4 separate regions of the Homo sapiens genome follow, and all the other regions are linked to region 3. Evidence: promoter capture Hi-C in 16 types of primary human blood cells and fetal thymus (Javierre and others, 2016). All regions are on one chromosome and are shown on one strand. The core of a region is centred on a gene start or on the middle of the fragment in contact, and the rest is flanking DNA. Distances in the headings are between cores, read along the strand shown. Region 1 holds the start of NAV2-AS5 (NAV2 antisense RNA 5). Region 2 has its middle 9.2 kb from the start of NAV2-AS4. Region 3 holds the start of MRGPRX2 (MAS related GPR family member X2). Region 4 has its middle 4.2 kb from the start of MIR4486.

Region 1 (5,456 bases), core at 761-3,260, 450 kb after region 3:
CATACTCCAGGACTTGTAGCCGATCTGACCCAAGTGGCAGAACTGCCTGAGCTCAAGTCAGGCAGGGCAGCAGCCTAGGCAGAGTGAGTGGCAGAATGTTCTGGAAGCAGGTGGCATCAAGAGCCTTTGAGAAGGCTCATCAGATTTGTGTTTGATGCACTGTGTGACCTTGGACAAGTCACTGAATCTCTCTGAGCCTCAATGTCCTCAACTGTGAAATGGGGCTGATCATACCTATCTATCTCCCAGATCAGAAATAATATTGGTCCCAGTTGAGTGTTGTGCCTGGCACCTAGCAGGCACTCAATACAGAGGAGCCATATTTGTAGAGTTAGGAGTTCTGACTCAGTTCTGGTGGCATTAGCATAGCTGGATTTCCTGAGGAAAGGCCATTGAGTTTTGGTCAGGTAGAGCTCTTGAGCTAGAGTGTGGGGTGACTTGGTAGCTCTGAAAGGAAGGAGAAAAGAAAGAGAAAATGCCACCCAGAAAGGAGCTTCATAGTATCTGTCCATTGCTTTGTCCTCACACAAAACTGGCTATATAATTTGAGGGGCTCACTGATAAATGGACATGTGGAGCCCCTTGTTCAAAAATCATTAAGAATTTCAAGATGGGGCCAGCAGAGTATTGAATCAAGCACAGGGCCCTCCTGAGCATGAGGCCCTGTGTGATTGCAGAGGTCACACACCCACAATGCCTGCCTTACACTTACACGTTGCCAGAGTGCAGTATTTGGCGCCAGAGCTTGGCAATGTTCTATTCTCCCCAGCAACCTCTCTGCCTAAATGTGCCTGGCTTGATGGTGTCTTGGAAACATCCAAGGAAGGAAAGGGATGTTGGAGCTGATTGAAAATACCTCTACCTGAATTCCAAGTGGTGTCATGAACAAGTACATACATAATATAGCAGTTAAGTGCAAATTTGGAATCTGTATGTATGTATAAAGTTGCTGTTGACATGGTTCTAGTAGTTACAGGAGTGTTGCCATGGTGACTGGCAGGGCCAGCTGTTGTTTCATTTCCCCCAAAGAATTGTATGGTAATAATAGACCCCTGGAGAGTCCTCCTGGGACAAGGAATGATGTTAAAAATCTGCCAATTAATGAACAGGTAGTATAAACTGACTTCATCCTCATTTGTTGTAATTAACAGGATTTTACAGGATTTTGATGAGAAGTGGCTAATTTGGTATAGAAATGTGGAGGGTAGACTACTTTTGGAGCCTGGGTTTGAATCTGCACTGTGTCACTAAATAGCTGCATCACTTAATTTCTCTGAGCCTGTCTCCTTATTTAGAAAATGGGGATCATTAAACCAAAGTTGGAGGAACATTGAAAATAAAGGATGTGAAATGCTTAGCTCAGTTTCTGGAGCATTATAGACAGATACTACATGGTTTCTATGATGCCGATGATATTAATGAAATCATCATCATTATAATCATCATAAAGCTTCCATTTATTGAAGGCTTCCACCTATATGTCCCTATGTTGTGTACATTATCTCATTTAATCTTTATAACAACCCTATCAGTGAGTCCATTGTTATCCTCAAGTTATAGATCAGGACACGGAGGTTCAGAGATTTGCCTGAGGTCACACAGCTAGTAAATGACAATGTCAGGATTCAAATTCAGGCAGTCTAACTCCAGAGCCCAGGCTTTTAACCCTTATACACAGTGCCCCTGGGATGAGGATTAATAAATACGTGAAGCCTAAGAGACATGCATTTCTGGATTTCAGTTGGCTCTGAAAGGTTGGTCCTTGATGAAATGGAAAGTATGTTTCCTTTTATAGCAAGGGCAGTGGTGGGGTGGGATGAAGGAGGGAGATTGTTTTAATAAGCACATGCTGATGGGGGCTGCTCTGTGGACCAGCCTTGCTCTGTCTCAGGGGTTCAGCCTTCTCTTCCTGAGGCTGTCCTACTGATTCCTCTGGAGTTGCAGCAACTCCTACCCTGACCTGATCCATGGGTCAGAATCAGGGTCAGGATGAGTCAAGGCTGACTCATTGACTATCCACTCTAATGGCCCTTCCTCCCCAGGGCTCTATGGATGCTGACCTTTGTCCTCTTCCAAACTAAAGAAAAACAAATAAGCATACAAGCACAAAACCAGCCCCTTGGACTTCCTGCTAATCCTATTTGGTTATTTAAGTGTGGCAGGTACCTTCTCTCCTCAGGGCCTTTGCATATGTTTCTACTCCTTCCTCCTGGGCTTCTCTTCGCAGTTCTCATTCTCAGTCCCATTTACTGTTGGGCGAGTTCCTAATCACCTTTCATACCTGCATGTAAATGTTACCTCTTCAGGGAAGCCTTCCCTGATTATCCTCCACTCCAGTCTCTAAGTTCCCCGTCCTGTACTCCAACAGCCACCTGTCTGCCTTTTGTATCACTTAATCAGAATTTTAATTAAATGATTATGAGTATAATGATTTAAGATTTATCTCTCTCAATAAATGTTTTATTCACTATTGAATCCCCAAATGCCTGTAACAGTGGCTGACTCTGAATTTGTTAAATAAATGAACTAGCAAGTAAAACCTCCGAAATCTCAACATCTGCCCTGGGGGAAAAGCTTATGCTTTGCAAGGTGAGCCCTTCATAAATTTCCTAGCTTCCTTAATATTGTGGTCCTACTAAGTGTTCAGGAGAAAGCAAACAAAACAAAATTATTACATAACTGGGTAGTTTGAGAAGGAAGAGCAGAAAGTAAAATTATTAAGCATCTACTACATTTCAGGGCTTGTGTTTCTCATTGTATCCTCAAATACCCTGCAATATAGAAGAAATTATTTGCATGTGACAAATGAGGAAACAGAAAAAGGACAGAGCATTAGGACTTGTCAGTCCCTTACTCTGGACTTCAGTGTCCTCTTCTGTAAAATGGGGTTGGGGATGAGTGAGCGAGGCAACCCTTAAGGTCTGTGCCAACTCATTCACTTTCCTTTGGAGGTTTCGTCCCCTATTGTTTATTAGTGTGTTTGTGTGTGTGGGTGTGTGTGTCTGTGTGTGCATGCGCATGCAAGTGCACAAAATCATCTTGGACAGGAACTACGTCATTAGCATGAGTGCTGGGGCCCCAAACCCTCAAAGGAGGCACCTTGGATAATTACATTATGGAGTTTGAGCAAGGGTGTGTGTGTCCTGTGCACCCAGGGAAGGCTGGAATGTCTTGCTCAGCTTTTACTGCATTCCATAGAAAGGATTATAAAGGGATTAGATGCAAATGCACTGAAGATTTGGCTGATTTGGGCTTGTATTCCCGCACCGATGGTTGGGATATTTATTCAACCCGATATTGCAAGATGCTTTTCCTAGGTGAGAGCAGGCACTGCGATAAATGATAATGCAATCAGCAGCAGCAGGCAAGATGAGAAGATAATTGTTTGCCCCACCTTCTCTTTGCTGGTTCTTTAGATTTCATCAATGTTTCCCCCCTAAAGCCTTAGAATCACTGCCCCTAAAACTCTAAGGAGAAAATGAAATTTTATTCTAATGCACTGGGCAGTTGAGCCCCTGACATTTGCTAGAATTGCTTTAATCTCACCCAAAACATCCAACTGGAAAGAAATAGGAAAAAAAAAATGTTATGAGCTGGGTTTAGCAGGCAGGGACCCACCTTCAAGGATGGGTCTGAGGTCTTTTCTCATTCCTGGGGTCATTCTTTTACTGGGCATTAGCATTTTTCCAGGAGGATCTATCAAATATTTCAGTTCTTTGACTTTTGCAGGTGCAAACAGACTGTTCGATGAGATTGGAAAACTAGAAGCTATTATGCAAGTTGGAGAAATACCAGAAGAACCTTTTAAATGGAAAACAGGGACCAAGAGAGATTGTATAGAGGAGAACGTGAGAGGAAGAAACACAGGAGTGGTTGTGGATCTGTGAGGGGATGAGGGAAACTGTCTTAGGAGATCCAGTGATAAATCCATAGCTCTCTGTTCTAAGCACATTAAGTGTGTGAAGTCATTAACCCTCACAGTTACACTATGAGTTTGCTACTATTTTTATGTCTATTTTAAACATGAGGAAACTGGGGTCCAGAGAGGTTGTGGATGCTGTCCTGAAACCTACATGAGAGCCAGTTCTCCATACTGATTTCTTGTCTCCTTCTCTGATAACAGCAGTAATCATTACAACCATGACAGCATTAATCACAGTGGCTGCAATTCATTGTTTATCATTAGCCAGGCTCTGTGCTGAGCCCTTATGTCGGGCGATCCTAGCAGATGCCTCACAAGGGTGTAAATATTTTTATTCCAAATTGTACAGGTGAGGAAACAGGTGAGAGGAGGTTAATTACGTTGGCAGAGATGGCATAACAGAGCCAGCGCTTTACCCAGGACTGCCCCAGCCCGAAGTCCGTTGGTCATTGCATGGTGCCTGTGTATTGTGGCAGGGCCAGCACTTTTCGGGCAACAGGTTACCCAGCCCAGGGCTGATCATTTTGTTTTTTTCATCTAGGGACACTGGACTGGAAAGTAGTCAGCTCTTCTCTTCTTGCTTCTCATGGCTGGGTCTCTTGAGTTATCCTTGGCAGCTGTGTAGTAGGCACACAGACCAACGAGCACAGAGGAATAGAGGCAAGGAAGGGGAGGACTTAGGGTTATGAGGTTTTCACTTTTATTTATAAACTCAAAAAGGGCTGGAGTTACACGATATTTATTTGCATACAGCTTCGTGATGTACAATGTGTGTTCACATGCTCCATGTTTTTTGATCCCCACGTAAGGCTGTGAGATAGACTTGATTTATTAGTCTTGGTTTTTAGGCTGAGGAACAAGTCCAGGAGGTTCAAGGGACTCATCAGGATCACACAGCCAGAAAATAGCAAAGTCTGTTCCTGACTCCAAGTCAGTAGGTTTTGTCAGTCTGTGTTGTTGTTGGAGAGAACAGTCGGGAGACACATGGACTAACACAAAAGGAATGGATGGGAGAGCAGGCAAAGGTTTGGACCTGCCTTGTCATCCCACAGGACAGGTAGCCCCAGTGGCACCATGGCTCTGGCAGGCAGACAAACCCCAGGATGCTTAAACTGGGATCCAGGGAGGCTTATGTGAAATGTCCAAAATAGACCAGTTTATGGAGACAGAGAGTAGATTAGTGGTTGCCTAATGTTGGAGAGGGGTGGAAAGGGGAAAGGGAGTGACTGCTAATGAATACAGAGTTTTCTGGGGTCAGGGGTGATTAACTCTTCTAAGACTGATCATGGTGATGGTTGCACAATTCTGTAAATATGCGAAAAACCATCAAAATTGTAGCAGGGAGGGCTAGTGCATGAGGACCTCCAGGCTGGGAAGCAGGAGCTATTTCCTGTGGGCTTTCTGGTCCGTAAAGCCTCTGGAAGCAGACGCTGTTTACTTCTCACTGAGCAGTAATTGCTGTTTCTCTGCCAGTCTCCGTCGCCCTTCTTTCTGTTCTGGCCTGGCAGGTGGTGCTGGAGGGAGAAGCCAGAAT
Region 2 (5,333 bases), core at 829-3,328, 470 kb after region 3:
CCACGGAAATGTGCTGTGGTTTTGTGACAAGCTCCAGAGCTCCGTGGCTAAATGTAGAGGTTGGAACAACAGTAATAAAGTAATAAACGATAAAAAACCAAGCACCTGCTATGTGTCATGGACTGTGCAGGCACTGTATGCACATTAACTCAAAACAGCCCTGAAAGGTCGGCCTAATTCTTCCAATTATACAGATTAGAAACAGGCTGAGAGTTTAAATGAATCTGCCAAGTCCCACAGCCACGAAGTAGTATATTCAGAATTTGAACTCAGGTTAGTTTGACTTCAAAGTCATTGCTCCCTTGAAAGCATTATCCTGTGAAAACTGATTCACTCAACAAATATTTATATATACTTCATTTACCAACTAGTATTTATTTATTAAATATCGGTATGTATTTCAACAAATATTTATAATATTCATCCAACAAAGATTACTACTATTTCTATGTATTTATGTATTTATTGCCTGGCATAGAGTAGGTATTGAAGAAATATATAGACTATGCTAGAGAGTAGGGATTAGGCACTAAACATGACAGATAAAATCTTTGCCTTCATGGGGCTCACATTCTGGTAGGGGAAACAGAAGATAGACATGGAAAGAAAGAAATATATGTAATAGCACCTAATTATAAGTTACTTTAAAAATGAACCAGAGTAAGGAGGCAGGGAGTGATTTGGGCAGGGAGCTAAGGCTGTTTTAATCACAGGCTCACTCTGGCTGCTGCTCTGAGCCAAGACCGTAGGTAGTCAAAGAAGCAGGGGGCCAGTTAGGAGGCAATGGAGATAATCTAGGTAAGAAACAAGAAGTTCTTGTCTCCAGATAATGGTAGCAGATTGGTAGGAAATGATTGGACTCAGAATTTATTTTTAAGTGAGCCAGCAAAATTTGTTGACAGATTGGATGCAGATTACAAGAGAAAGAAAGGAGTCTATGGTAACTCCAAGATTTTGGCCTGAACAACTGGAGGGATGGGATTGCCAGTTGCTGAGACAGGGGAGAATGAAAGGTTGGGAATTCAAATGGACTCATTTGTGTTTGAGATGTCTATTACTAGTCCAAGGGACATGTTGAAAAGCCATTGTGATTTTTGAGTTTGGAATTCAAGGGTGTGTTCTAGGGGTAAATATGTCCAATATTTAATCAAACCAAAGAGGCCACTGACTATAAGACCATTATTTTATTTACTACCAAGAAAAAGCACTGTCCATTAAGCTAGGATACACTGCAACTTCAGAGATATTAAAATGTGGAAAAAATGTGTGGTTTAGAGTCAATGGGATTTAGTAAGTTTGGGAGTTTCCAGTATATGGATGGTATTAACAGCTGTGAGAGTTGAGGAAATCACCAAGGGAGTGATAGAGGATAAAGAGAAAGAAAAAAAATTAGGTTGGTGCAAAAGTAATTGTGGTGTTTGCCATTAAAAGCAATGGAAACTAATAGAAGTATAAAGGACTGAGCACTAGCATGGCAAATTTTTGAGCAGGGAGATTCATGGCCCATTTCGAGCCCAGTGGAAAGTTGGGCAGTGAAAGATCTTTTCTGGAATAGGAGCCACTGTGGAGCTGCTCTGCAGGGCTTTGGTCTGGGGACTCAGGACTCACAGATGGCCAGAATTGTAACACAGGGCATCACCCAGCACTAGCTGTGTGGCATTGCCCAGAAAGGCCAAGCTTTTCAGCTCGCCTGGTTCACTGCTGGACTGTTTTCTCATCAGTAATATGCAAGTATAATGTCTACTCTATCATCTCAAAACCCAGAAAAAAAGTCCATCTGTTTCTTTCTCTGGGCCTCAACATCTGCCCCTATAAAATGAAGAGTCTGGACAGGGTGATTTCTAATTCCTCTTCCAGCTCAGGCATAACAATACTACTAGCTGCAGTACTTTGAACATCTACTAGGTGATTTATATTAATATAATCACTAATCATCATAAACGGCCATGTATTATGATTCCCATTTCACTAATGAGGCAACTGAGGCCAAAAAGGGAGCAGGCTACTCACGGTGGTGGAGCCAGGCTGCAGACTAGAGTATTTCAGGCCATTGGCTTAAAGCCCCCTGCCTCCCTGCTGGGATTGATGCATAATTCTTGAGCTAAACTTAGTAGCATGTGGCTGGAGCCCAAGGGCAACCCCTTCTTATGACACGAGGCAACTTCAAAGGGTTGTCCCACATACAAGGGGAAGATAGTTTGTCTCTGGGGACCCTCTACTTTCATGGGAATGGAGTGTTCCTGCAAAAAGGTCAACAGAAAGGAAGGCAACTGATGTTGGAGTGTAGAGGTAACTCATCCCCAATCCTGTGGACTCTCGGTTTAGTGCTCTTTGACCATATTATTTGCTAGTCAAGGACCAGTGTCCACACATAGTGGTACTGAATGGGATTCCTTTGGTCAGGTTGTTGTGAGAACGTTTCCTGAGCTAGAGGTGGAAGAAGGGGAAAAGTGGGTTGGAGTGAGTTTCAGTGATGGGAGAAAGCTTGTTGTCAGTCTAGGACTAATCAAGGAGCTGAGTAGAGTCAGATGCATCAACATTTCAACCAGGAATATAGTGTAGACCGGGGTTTCTTAACCTCAGCACAATTGACGTTTGGAGCTAGATATATCTTTGTGATGGAGGACTGTCCTGGGTATTGTGGGCTATTTAGCAGCATCCTCGGCCTCTACCTACTAGATGCCATTAGCGACAACTCCCCATCCCCAGCTGAGATGACCAAAAATATCTGCAGTCATTGTGAAATGTTCTTGGGGTCAAAATTATATCCACCCCCTTCTTCAAGGCTGACAAACATTGGTGTAAACAATTCTCTCTCCCTCCTACAAAGGCCATCAGCTGACCATGTCCACACATGTCCTGGGCATGTGTGTTCCTGGGCATTTTCCTCCCTCTGGCATCCTCCTGCAGGGCTGGGTGAAACCCCAATGAAACCAGGTTCTCCCTGTCTTTTCAGTCATTGTCCTCCTGGAAATATCACATACTGAAACCTTCTCTGAGACGTGCACTTTCTCTACCCCCACCCCCTCTGTTTCTGTCTGTCTGTCTCTCTCTCTCTCCCCTCTGGGAACTATCTTTTTTTTTTTTTTTTTTGAGACGGAGTCTCGCTCTGTCGCCCAGGCTGGAGTGCAGTGGCGGGATCTCGGCTCACTGCAAGCTCCGCCTCCCGGGTTCACGCCATTCTCCTGCCTCAGCCTCCCAAGTAGCTGGGACTACAGGCGCCCGCCACTACGCCCGGCTAATTTTTTGTATTTTTAGTAGAGACGGGGTTTCACCGTTTTAGCCGGGATGGTCTCGATCTCCTGACCTCGTGATCCGCCCGCCTCGGCCTCCCAAAGTGCTGGGATTACAGGCGTGAGCCACCGCGCCCGGCCTCTGGGAACTATCTTATCCACAGACACACTGAATTGTTTTATCTCAGGACATTTGCACTTGTCACCCCATGCCACCCTTGTGGCTCCTCTTCATTTGGGTCTCCATTTTTACAGCCCCATGTCATAGGCCACCTTGCTTATCATTCCAGTTACTCCTTACTGCATCTCTCTGCTTAGTGCCTGCAGAGTGTTGGCCAACCCCTGGTAGCATCGTGTTTATTTGCTTATTTGTTTATTGCTTGTCTCCCCCATTAGACTGTGGGATCTCAGAGGGCACGGACCTGATCTAGTGGGACCTGATCCAGTTTGTCCCCTGCTGTACCCACAGTGCAGACTTCAGTGCATGGTTGTAATCATGGGTCCAACAGCTTTGGTGAACACATGTTGAGCACCTACTCAACAGCACCAGGCTCTGTGCTAGGAGCTGAGTTGAATAGCACAGTCTCTGCTTCCTACGAGCTCAGTGTCTCATGGAAGGAGAGCAATAAAAGAGGTGAGAGAGAGAGAAGTGAAGGAGCACAGAGAAAGGAACAAGTGAACCTGTCTTGCAGATGAGGAAAGATCTTCAGTTTGAGGAAAGGAGGATCACACAGTATCTGCAGATGCAAGAAGATACAGGGGATCATGGATGGCTCCCAGGGAGCAGGGAAGGAGCAATGGCATGGAACTTGGAGCAGCAGGGCTCCCTGTGCAATGTTTGAAGCAGCAGAAAATGAGGGAGGTGGAGTAGAGGAGGAAAACTGAGAGACCTTGCATTCCATGCCAGGAAACAGACCCTAACCTATAGCAAACAGGACCCAAGAGGCAATGTAGACTAGTAGTTAAGATGTAAGCTTTGAAGTTAATTTCAGACCTTGGTTCAAATCTTCACTCTGCCACTTGTGCACTGCATGACTGGCCAGCAATTTCACATCTCTTAACTTCAGTTTTATCATTTTGGAAATGTGGTTAATATTTCCATTGTAGGGCTGTTTTGAGTGCAAAATAAGTCCTTAGCACAGTGCCTGGGACATAATAAGTGCTTAATAAATCATTGCTATTCCTGTTGATGTGGTTAACAAGGAGCCAGTAGAGATTTTCCAAGCAAATGAAGGACATGATAGATTTGCATTTTAGCAAGATTGTGCAGGCAGGGCTGTGGAGAGTGGCTTGGCAGTGGCTCTGAGGAGATCAGGTGAGACAGGAACCAGGGAAAACAGGAAGCTGCTGGAATGGAAAGAGAGGCAGAGAAGGGGGTTTGAATCCTGGGACTTGGAGCAGCTACTGTGGGAACCTTGGTAGCAGGAGATGCACTCATACTTTGCCCTCTGAGTAAGGCTGCAGGGGAGTAGAAGAGGAGTCCCCAGGCCCAACAAGTAATAGCCTAGAGGAGGCCCAGGTGGGGAACTACAGCTCAGCCTGACCTGGGTTCACTCACCAGCTCACAGCCTTTGCACCTGGGAAGATGCAGCCAGCTTTGCATTTCAGGCCATCCTCATGGTGAGAAGGGGTGGCTTGCCATTTGTACCGGGTGATATACTTTTAATTAAAATGGTAATTATTTGAGCATTCCTTAAAGGTTTACTTTGGGAATTTGCCGTCTTGAAAGCTCTGCCTTAATTAGTATTCTATTTATCCCTTATTAATAAATTATCTCTCAGCGGTTTCTTCCACCTCCTTTGATCACAGGGTCTCATCATTCCTGAGCTGAACTCCATTCCCTGTTGGCCTTATGGGTTCAGTGGGCCCAATCAAGCCTGATTCAGGGGTTTGAGAATTAAAGTTCTCAATTAACGCCCAACAGCGTGGGGATCCATCTTCTTGTGGTCCAAATGAGCCCCAGGAAAGCACACAATAAATGTGCCTCCCAGGGTTGAGTATGGGGACCTTCTGGGTGTAGATCTTTTGCTGAAGCTTCTAGAACAGAGCAGACTGGGCCAAGGCAGTGGCCACAGATACATTAGGACCCAGTATCATAAC
Region 3 (5,337 bases), core at 938-3,437:
CCTGCCTCAGCCTCCCGAGTAGCTGGGACTACAGGTGCCCACCACCACGACTGGCTAATTTTTTGTATTTTTTTTTTCAGTAGAGACGGGGTTTCACTGTGTTAGCCAGGATGGTCTCGAACTTCTGACCTTGTGATCTGCCCGCCTCGGCCTCCCAAAGTGCCAGGATTACAGGCGTGAGCCACCGTGCCCGGCCCTGCACCTGTATTTTTAAGTGTATGTCTGTTTTTTCTTTTACTTCCCTCATTAAGCTCAACATTTTTGTTGTGGTTGTTCACTATTATATCCCCAGCCTCCAACACATATCCCTTGGAGGCCATCTATTGTAATACGCTCATTTAACAAAGAAAGACAGGCTTAACGTGTACAAAAGAGTTTCCTGAATCACATGGTGAAAAGCAGGTCCAATACCAGCTCCAGTCTCCTGGGGCCCTGTCCTAGGTTTATTTCTGTTCCATGTCTACATCATTCACTATTTGTGAGGCAGTGTTGAGAAAAATCTCCAGGTGAGCACAGATGCTAAAAGAGAATCGGGCTATAGAGACTGCTTGTTGCCCCAAAAGCCATTCTCCTTTTCTCACACATAATAATTCTGAGTCTTAGATCAGAAAAAGGCCCATTTCTCAGCTTCCCTTTATGCTAATGGCACCATGTAACCATATGTGATGGTCAAGGGGAGGTGAGAGAAAGTGATATAACCAGCTACTCCTGTACTCTTTCTTTTTTTCTCTTCTCTCTGGCTGGAATGCTGATGTGTTTGGGAGCCATGTAGGACCATGAGGGTAAGGGTACCGCTTTAGGGATGGGGAAATAGAAATTGGAAGGAGCCTTGATGTTTGATGTCTTAGAGTTATCAGCCCAAGTCTAGTAAACATTCTTTTTGATTATCACTATAATAGGTTTCTTTTTAGAGAAGCCAAAATCATAAACTTACATTACACATACCTGTGTACTTATAGCTGGGAGTACCTATGTACTCCCAATCCCTTTTTTTCCCAACCACATTCCATTCTCAAGGCATTTATGATGATAGTGAGAGACTAGTCCAAAGAAGTGACACTAGATGGGAAGGTCAAACAATTAAAAAAAAGGGAGGTGATAGAATGAGAAATTGATTCAATCACATTAATAGAGAAAGTCTCAGGAAAGACAAACTGAGAAGAGGCTATGGGAAGAAATGGACTTTCCTATTTGCTATTAGGATCTCATGTCCATCCTTCTCTACCTGCCTTTGCATCCTGGGAGGAGACATGTCTGTGCCTCGTCAATGGGCTGTCTTTCACTCAGGCTCCAAAGGGTACACATTGACAGGAGATTGGAGGGTGACTTTTTTTTTCAGCCAAAGGGACACATTGACAGTAGATTGGGGGATGATTTTTTAAAAATTTCCTGGCTCTCTCCCTGCGCCCTGAAGGGCTGTGAGTTGGCAGTGGCAGTGTTTTTCTACCTAAGGACATAGCCCTGCCTGGTGGCCCTTTCCTGTAGCCACAGCTATAGTTACAGTTACAGTTACCGCTACAGCACATTCTGAGTTCTCAGAACTTCTCTTTCTCCTTATCACTTCAGACCTAGCAACGGTAACAGCCCTCCACTATCACTTGCCTTTGAGGGCTTCATCATTCCTTAATCCCTGTTCACGCCGTTGTAAACAGTCTCTTCACTAAACTCCTCTAAACTACCCCTTTAGAGTGTGTGATGTGTGTTTTCTGCTGGGACAATGACAGATATGAAGGAAAAACCTTTTGAATAACAAGAAAATCAGTGCAACCTGAGGTTTTAAATAACAATTTAGCTTAGGGAAGTAATGACTTCATTCTAGCCTGCCCCTAAATTAAAATCAGCAAAATCTTTCTCTCCATAGTTTCAGATTTGAATGGTCGAAGAGAAGGGGAGAATATTGGTAGATAGAAGAGAAGTGGGACGAACCTGCTTGACCCCATTCGGATCTCCCAGCATCTAAGCTGCCAGCATCCAAAGCTTCCTCAAAGGAGCTTCCTGTCTTCTTTTCCTAATGAATTCATCAGGATGTGGACTAAGGTAAAAACCAAAACTGCCTTTGAAAGAAGATGGTTCTTGAACAAACTCTTACCTTAACACCCTTCTTTCTACTGGAGTTGGTGAGTTGAGAAGTGCTTTCCTGGGACTGGCAAACAGCTGAGGATGGGGAGATGCCTGCAGGATCTGGAGTGAAACCTGATGACTGAGTGAAGCTTATCAAGATGCTCAACAACCCTGTGATTTCCTGTACAGAGGGTGCTGGAAAATAAGAGTATGACACAGGAAACCACATGAGATGTTTCTCAGCATTTGCCCTGACTCCAATCACTTATCTTGGTTTCTCCCCTACCCTCTCCGGCCCCACTCCCTGCAAGGAATCACCGTCCTGAAGTCTTTCATTGCCCACAATGAGCATCCAGGAAGCAGACCAATCAAGCGACGTGAGCTTTCATAGCTAAAGAATAGTCTGCCCTCTTCTGCTTGGCATTCAAGGCCCTGGCTTACTTGACCTTTCAAAATCAGGTTTATTTCAAATGACACTAAGGTGTATAAAATGAAATGCAAAGTCTCTCGAAGTCTCATTCCCCAAAAGCAACCACTGCATACAGTTTCCATTCTTTTTTTTAAAAAAGCTTTGCGTAATAAAACAACATTTCTATTTTTGATTTATCGATGTTAACAACTAGATATATTGAGTCTCCTTATAAAATATAGGGGACTTAGCACATCACATGCACCATCTGTCACGTTTCTCCCTCTACATCATGATATTTATTAGCTAGATTATTTTTAGATCATCTAGAGCCAACCAATATTTTCAGCCTTATCTCCTATGACTTCCTTTCATGTGCCTATGCTGCAGCCAAATTGAGTTATAAGTAACAATTATGAAGCATTTAAGACAATCAGAAGAAATTATTCACTCATTTATTCATTCATTCAACACTGTTTATTGTTTGCCTATGATATGTCAGGTACCGTTCCAGGCAATGAAGACACAATGATGAACACCATACAAGATCATGCCCCTTTGCATTCCAGAGCAGCTGGGTGACCTCAGACAGGGAACATGTGTTGATTGAGGCGAGTTCTGAGACTCAGCATTTTCTTGTATTATACTTTGGTGCAGTGGGTAAACCATGCATTTGTCCCCAGAAATCTGCTTTCCTCATGAGCAGCAGCAGGACCTTAGAAAGCTTTAACTTCTGTTACTGTCTAACCTACTGTGCTCTATTATTTGATTTTGATTCTGTTTCCCTCCAACAAATGAAACACTTATTATTGTTTTAAATAGTCAGTGTTTATTCAGATTTATCCACATAATCACCAATGCTTTTGCTCATCCTCCCATTTTACATCTCATATCTTCCATTTCTCAAAACACATTCTTCAGGAGTTCCTTCTGTGAGAGTCTCTGCATGGTAAATGCCTCCTTTTATCTATCTGAAAATGTCATTGTTTCACCCTCGTCTTCTAAAGATGGTTTTTCCAGGCATGGCATTGTAGGGTGATAGTTTCTTTCTTCCAGCACATTGAAGATCCATGTTCTGACTGCCAGGGTTACTGTTGCGGCCATCAGTCAGGTTGCCATTTGCTTGTGGTGATCTGCCTTTTTTTCCTCTAAGAGCTTTTATTTTTCTCTGCTATGATACATTCTCACCAAATTGTATCTGGTGACTCTTTTTCAAATCATGTTTGGGATTTGTGGAGTTTCCTAGATTTTAAAATTATCATCATTTAACATTTTTAAACAATTTAATGCTATAATCTCTTTAAATATTAACATAACGGTGAAGAACACAAGACCAGGCTACTTGGCATTTCTCCTATGGGACCTTAGCCAGATTTTGTAACTCTGTTATGTTTGTTTCCTCATCAGTAAAATGGGGATAACATTATTAATCTATAGGTTTGCTGTGAAGATTAATAATTTAATGTATATAAATGATTTACAATAGGAGCACATAGTAAGTACTATAAAATTATTAGCTCTCATTATCACTTTTAGTATTATCTCTTTCTGGAAGTCTAATTCAACATATGTTAGCCCTCTTCTTCTATCATCCTTATTTCTTTAACCTTTTCCTTATGTCTCGTCTCTGTCTCTGAGGCTGCTTTCTGGGTAATTTCTTCAGATGTATCTTCCAGTTAACTAGATTCTTTCCATTGTGTCTAATCATCTGTTTAATCTATCCACTGAAGTTTAAATCCAATTTTTATATTACTAATTTCTAGAAGTTCTATTTTATTTTTTTAAAATTATACTTTAAGTTATGCGATACATGGGCAGAACGTGCAGGTTTGTTACCTACGTATACACATGCCGTGGTGGTTTGCTGCATCCATCAACCCGTCATCTACATTAGGTATTTCTCCTAGTGCTATCCCTCTCCTAGCTCCCCACCCCCTGAGAGGCCCCAGTGTGTGATGTTCCCCTCCCTGTATCCATGTGTTCTCATTGTTCAACTCCCACATATGAGTGAGAACATGCAGTGTTTGGTTTTCTGTTCCTGTGTTAGTTTGCTGAGAATGATGGTTTCCAGCTTCATCCACGTCCCTGCAAAGAACATAAACTCATCCTTTTCTTACGGCTGCATAGAATTCCATGGTGTATATGTACCACATTTTCTTTATCCAGTCTATCATTGATGGGCATTTGGGTTGGTTCCAGGTCTTTGCTATTGTTAATAGTGCTGCAATAAACGTATGTGTGCATGTGTCTTTATAGTAGAATGATTTATAATCTCTTGGGTATATACCCAGTAGTGGGATTGCTGAGACAAATGGTATTTCTGGTTCTAGATCCTTGAGGAATCGCCACACTGTCTTCCACAATGGTTGAACTAATTTGCACTCCCACCAACCGTGTAAAAGCGTTCCTATTTCTCCACATCCTCTCCAGCATCTGTTGTTTCCTGACTTTTTAATGATTTCCATTCTAACTGGTGTAAGATGGTATCTCATTGTGGTTTTAATTTGCATTCCTCTAATGACCAGTGATGATGAGCATTTTTTCATGTTGGTTGGCCATATAAATATCTTCTTTTGAGAAGTCTCTGTTCATATTCTTCACCCACTTTTTGATGGAGTTGTTTATTTTTTCTTACAAATTTGTTTAAGTTTCTTGTAAATTCTGGATATTAGCCCTTTGTCAGATGGATAGATTGCAAAAATTTTCTCTCATTCTGTAGGTTGCCTGTTCACTCTGATGATAGTTTCTTTTGCTGTGCAGAAGCTCTTTAGTTTAATTAGATCCCATTTGTCAATTTTGGCTTTTGTTGCCATTGCTTTTGGTGTTTTATTCATGAGGTCTTTGCCCATGCCTATGTCCTGAATGGT
Region 4 (5,080 bases), core at 616-3,115, 510 kb after region 3:
CTTGACCCAGAAGTCCAGAGCATAAGAGGCTCTCTCCTGGAGCACTGTTTGTGTCAGACCCTGCTAAGCACTTCACAGACTTGATCTCATTGACTTCTTATGAAAGCACCTCCCAGGTAGGTCTAGTCCCGGTTCTTTAGTCCCCCATTGAAGGAAGGGGAGCAAAGATGGTGAGCACTTGCCCAAGGTCTTAGTTACATAAGGCTGAGCCAGGTCTCAGAACCCAAGTCTGTGCTGCTAACGTCACCTCCCCATTCACGTTGGCCACACTCTGAGAATGCAAAGGTGAGGTCTCTCTAATTCTAATCTAAGTGGATCTGATTAGGAGTTATTGGGCCAAAGTCATTAACTTACATTTCAGATGTACTGCCCTGGGTCTCCTACGCATCTTCTATGTGACAGGCAGCATTGGAAGAAAGCAAGGCTCTATCTCACCCAGCATATGCTTTTCAGGTGCTGAGCACAGAATGCTTGGGCCCAGCACTTCAGAGAAGTCAAATGGATCCAGCTTCTGCATGGTCATGAAACTTATTATCCTGGGTGAGGGAATGGTAAATGATTTTTCTTCTTGTTCTGTACTTTTTAAATTTATAAAAATAAAGTGTTTATAGTCATGGAAAAAAGTTTTAAATAATAAAGAAATTAGCAAATACACCTGCAAGATGTCAAGGAGCTGTATCCCTCCCTGCCCTTGTTCATGCATTTCTCTTAGTCTGGAATGTCCTTCCCTTCCTTGTCAATGCATTAATGTCTTACTCATTTTGCAGGGCTCAGCTCAAATGCAGCCTCTTCTTGATCCCATCTCAAGCTGGTTCCTTGTCTATTGTCTCTCTTTCTCACTGGAATGTAAACCCCATGAGGGCAAACGACCTTGTCTGTCTTTTCACTGTTTTATCCCAATATCTAAAAGAGTGTCTAGCATGTAAGAAAAACCCATAAAATTTTTTTAGTGAATAAATGAATATTCCCACATTTGATTCCTAATATCCATCTCGGTCTGTCCCATCCTGCCTTCTGCCTCAAACTATGGCAGCTGTTTCTCTCTCTCTCTCTATTCTCTGCTGGCCTACTTGAAAAACTTATTTCTGTGGCCCCCATAGCACAGAGCTTGGTACATAATAGACCTCAGTAAATGAACGTTTGCTGTCAACTTCAAGGCAAGGAATCAGGATGCAAAGGGCTACATCTCACCCCCTTCTCTGGGGAATGAGCTGCGTTGTCAGGAACTGATTACAATGTGATGCTCCCTGGGGAGGGAGAACTGCCCCTAACCACCCTGGATGGGGAGTTATGAGATGAAATGGCTCATGGAGGTTGTCCCACTGCCCCAGAGTTGCTGCTTTATAAGGAAGGAAAGTACAAAAGCACAACAAAGTCTACTAACGCTAAATTTTGAAAGGTAAAGATGACTTTCCCCTTGTATTCAACCAGGTGGCTGTCTCACCTGAGCCTTCCTCCCAGGCAGCAGAATTACTCCTTGTAGCTATCAGGGGGAACATCTGTATTTCTTCCATCCTTCCCTTCAAATTTTGGGGCCAGCATTTTGTTTGTGGAATCACTACCTATCACTACCTACATTATTGGAGATGAGGGGATAATGGGCAACAGGAGGCAGATCTGGAGAGGCTGAATGATAGGCATCTTGGGCTCCGGAGCTGAAGACACAGATTCAAACCCTGCCTCTGCTCTGCATGGCTGTGTGTCATTAGGCAGGTAACTTAAATGCCCTGACCCTTAGTCTCTAAGATGGGAATGGTGATGATGATGGAATTCACCCAGAGGATGTCAAGAAGATTAGATGTAAAACACTTAACACAAAACTTGTAGGATAAAACCTAGAGGTAAATTTTCATGACCTTGGATTTGGCAATGGATTGTTAGATACAACATCAAAACCATCAGCAACAGCAGGTAAAATGGATAAGTTGGACTTTATCAAAATTAAAAACTTTTCTACACCAAATGACAGCTTCAGACTTGGAGAAAATATTTGCAAATCATATATCTGGTAAGTCTAGTATTCAGAATATATCAAAAGCTCAATGTTAAAAAAGACCTGATTAAAATAAATAAACCAATTAAAAAGTGAGCAAAGGACTTGAATAGACATTTCTCCAAAGAAGATATACAAATAGCCCAGAAGCACATGGAAAGATGCTAACATCATTAGTCATTAGGGACAAACAAGTCAAAACCGCCATGAAATACCACTTCACACACGCTAGGATGGCTACAATTTTTAAAAAATTGAAAATAACAAGTGTTTCTGAGGACATGGGGAAATTAGAACCTTCCTATAGTGCTGGTGGGAATGTAAAATGGTGCAGCCACTGCAGAAAACAGTTGATGGTATTTCAAAAAGTTAAACATGGAATTACCATATGACCCAGGAATTTTACTTCTAGGCGTACACCAAAAAAGAATTGAGAACAAGTGTTTAAAAAATGTGGTCATGAATGTTCATAGCAGCAGTGTTCATTATAGCCAAAAAGTGGAAACAACCCAAATGTCTATCAACAGATTAATAGATAAACAAAGTATGGTATATCCATACAATGGAATATTATTCAGCAATAAAAAGAAGTGAAGTACTGACAAATGCCACAACATGGATGAACTCTGAAAACATTATGTTAAGTGAAAGAAGCCAGGCATAAGGTCATATATTATATGATTTCATTTCTATGAACTATCCAGAATAGGCAAATCCATGAGAGACAAAAGTAGGTTAGTTGTTGCCAGGGGCAAAGGAGAGGGCAGGAATGGCAACTGACTCCTTAATGGACACAGGCTTCCTTTTGGGATGATGAAAATGTCTTGGAACCACTTAGAAGTGAAGGCTACGCAGCATTATGAAAGTACTAAGTGTCACTGAATTGTACACTTTAGAAAACTTTTCGGCTAGGCACAGTGCCAGCCTGTAATCCCAGCACTTTGGAGGCCAAGGTGGGTGGATCACCTGATGTCAGGAGTTCAAGACCAGCCTGGCCACATAGTGAAACCCCATCTGTACTAAAAATATAAGAATTAGCCAGGAGTGTTGGCATGTGCCTGAAATCCCAGCTACTCGGGAGGCTGAGGCAGGAGAACTGCTTGAACCCAGGAGGTGGAGGTTGCAGTGAGCTGAGATTGCACCACTGCACTCCAGCCTGGGCAACAAGAGCGAGACTCCATCTCAAAAAAGAAAAAAAAAAAAGAAAAGTTTAATTTTATGTTATGTCGATTTTACTTTCATTAAAAAGAAACGTGTAGCTCAGAAAAGCAGTCAGTAAATGGTGCCTTTACTATTACTTATTATGACTATATCCCCTTCCCACTGGAAATCAGCTTTTCCCAAAGGCTGAATGATAAGATATGTTAGGAAGTCCCAAAATAGGAAGTGCAGAGATGGGAGGATGAAGAAGGAGAGGGGAGACTGTGGCAGGTTTGGTCTTTCCCAACCCTCTAAGCACTCACTGTGTTAGGGACATCCTGTGGATGAGTAGACTGGCAGGTAGAACCATCTGCCCCCTGCTACCTGGGGCAGGACCACAGGACAACACTGGCAGACACAGGGGTGCAGATGGGAAGATGCTCTTTTGGCCCAAGCCATGGACTTAGGTAGTATGGCCTGCTCCTCCCACTGCCTGGCAACACAGTCAGCTTGCCCAGGCTGCTGCCTTCCGGATGTCAGTTGAACACTCCTGACAATATGCTCCATGGCTTAGGTCAGGGTCCAGGGTCCGTGTCGCTGAACTCTAAGATCAGGGACTGGAAGAGGCCTTAAAGCCCTCCGTCCCTTCTTATTTGGCAGACGGGGAAACTGAGACTTGGGGATATGGCATCAGCTTGCCATATTCCTTGCTCAGCCACCCTTCTCTGCAATAGAGATTGGAATTTTGTCATCCCTTTGCTGTAGTACTCTATCTGCAACCTTTCGGCTTCAATATTTTATATCTTGACAAAAGGACTTGACCTGGGGCAAAAGATTAAACAGGAAGCTCTGGAGTGTTCATTTTGGGGAAACAGCATGGCTTTTGGGGAAGAGCAAGAAAGCTTGGACAGCCCAGGGCAACCCCGTCTTGTTAGTAATAATAATGACTTCCATGTTTTTAAGGTAGTTACATGGTGGTCAGCACATAGATGCCAGAACCAGTCTGTCTGAGTTTGAACTCCAACTCTCCCACTTATGAGCTGCATGACTTTGATTAAAAGGCTTAATCTCTCTATGCCTCATTTTCTTCATCTGTAAAATGGGAATCATAATGGTGTATATAAAAGCTTCCAGAATTTTGCCCAGCACATGGTAGGGACTTGATAAATGACAGGGATTATAATTCCTATTGCTGATATTAATTAGTATAATTACCTGGGGAAACCTATATGAATATGCTGAAGTTTGCCAAGGACCGCTTTCCAGAAACAACAAACCGCAGAACCAACAGGGTCAACAGCATGCCTTTTGAAAAACTGGCCACAAATTGCATTTTTACACAATCTAATTTTCTCATTAACCTCTTGTTTAGGAAATGCTTTGTCTTTGAAATCATGTGAGGACTCCGTCTTGGCTCGGCAGGCACTCCTCTGGCTTTCAGGCATGAGCTTGCTGTTTCCTTTGCCTAGAACATTCTTACCTCCCACCTCCACCCAGACATCTGTGTGGCTACCTTCATCACTTCCTGCACTTCTTTTCCCAGAAGTCATCTTCTCAGTGAGCCCATCCCTGGGCACCCTGTTCAGAATCTCAGCTACCCTGCCCCTACACTTCATACCTATCTTCTCAGCTTTGCCTTTTTCTTCTTGGCACCTTGTCTGACATACTATCATATTTGTTTTGTTGGTTACCCACTCCGAACTGGAAGGTCTTTGAAGTCAGGGATTTTGACCATTTTGTTAATGATGTTTTCTCCAGCGCTCAGCACACAGCCAAGCACATAGTATGGACTCAATGACTGTGGCATGCGTGAGTATATAGGTGGGAAGGAGGATTTCCTGGCGGGTTCTGATTTTAGAATTTACCTGGTACAGCTGAGCTTCACTGAGCTGCTACCCTGTGCCAGCCGCGGGCAGTGCCTGACATCTGCCATTTCACTTCATCTTC

Evidence for each region. The method cuts DNA at HindIII sites, captures the fragments that hold promoters and counts their contacts. A CHiCAGO score of 5 or more calls a contact.
Region 1: a fragment that was not itself captured here is called in contact with the fragment with the promoter of MRGPRX2 in region 3 in 2 of 17 cell types (megakaryocytes and M2 macrophages); the score reaches 7.5 in megakaryocytes.
Region 2: a fragment that was not itself captured here is called in contact with the fragment with the promoter of MRGPRX2 in region 3 in 6 of 17 cell types (M1 macrophages, megakaryocytes, M0 macrophages and 3 more); the score reaches 6.7 in M1 macrophages.
Region 4: a fragment that was not itself captured here is called in contact with the fragment with the promoter of MRGPRX2 in region 3 in 1 of 17 cell types (erythroblasts); the score reaches 6.5 in erythroblasts.

What each region holds. Positions count from the first base shown.
Region 1 is chr11:19,506,289-19,511,744 of GRCh38, forward strand. NAV2-AS5 (NAV2 antisense RNA 5) reads right to left here and starts at 941. Exons shown (of 3, transcript NR_049725.1): 1 at 1-941. It overlaps NAV2-AS4 (NAV2 antisense RNA 4), which reads right to left. Exons shown (of 4, transcript NR_033989.1): 4 at 4,605-5,436. It also overlaps a transcript of NAV2 not described here. The HindIII fragment of the contact is 1,124 bases long and covers 1,449-2,572 here.
Region 2 is chr11:19,530,632-19,535,964 of GRCh38, forward strand. It overlaps a transcript of NAV2 not described here. Among named protein-coding and RNA genes, the nearest start is that of NAV2-AS4, 9.2 kb to the left of the region's middle. The HindIII fragment of the contact is 807 bases long and covers 1,676-2,482 here.
Region 3 is chr11:19,058,530-19,063,866 of GRCh38, forward strand. It overlaps MRGPRX2 (MAS related GPR family member X2), which reads right to left and starts at 2,188. Exons shown (of 2, transcript NM_054030.4): 1 at 2,090-2,188. The HindIII fragment of the contact is 233 bases long and covers 1,976-2,208 here.
Region 4 is chr11:19,568,530-19,573,609 of GRCh38, forward strand. It overlaps a transcript of NAV2 not described here. Among named protein-coding and RNA genes, the nearest start is that of MIR4486, 4.2 kb to the right of the region's middle. The HindIII fragment of the contact is 4,336 bases long and covers 1-4,033 here.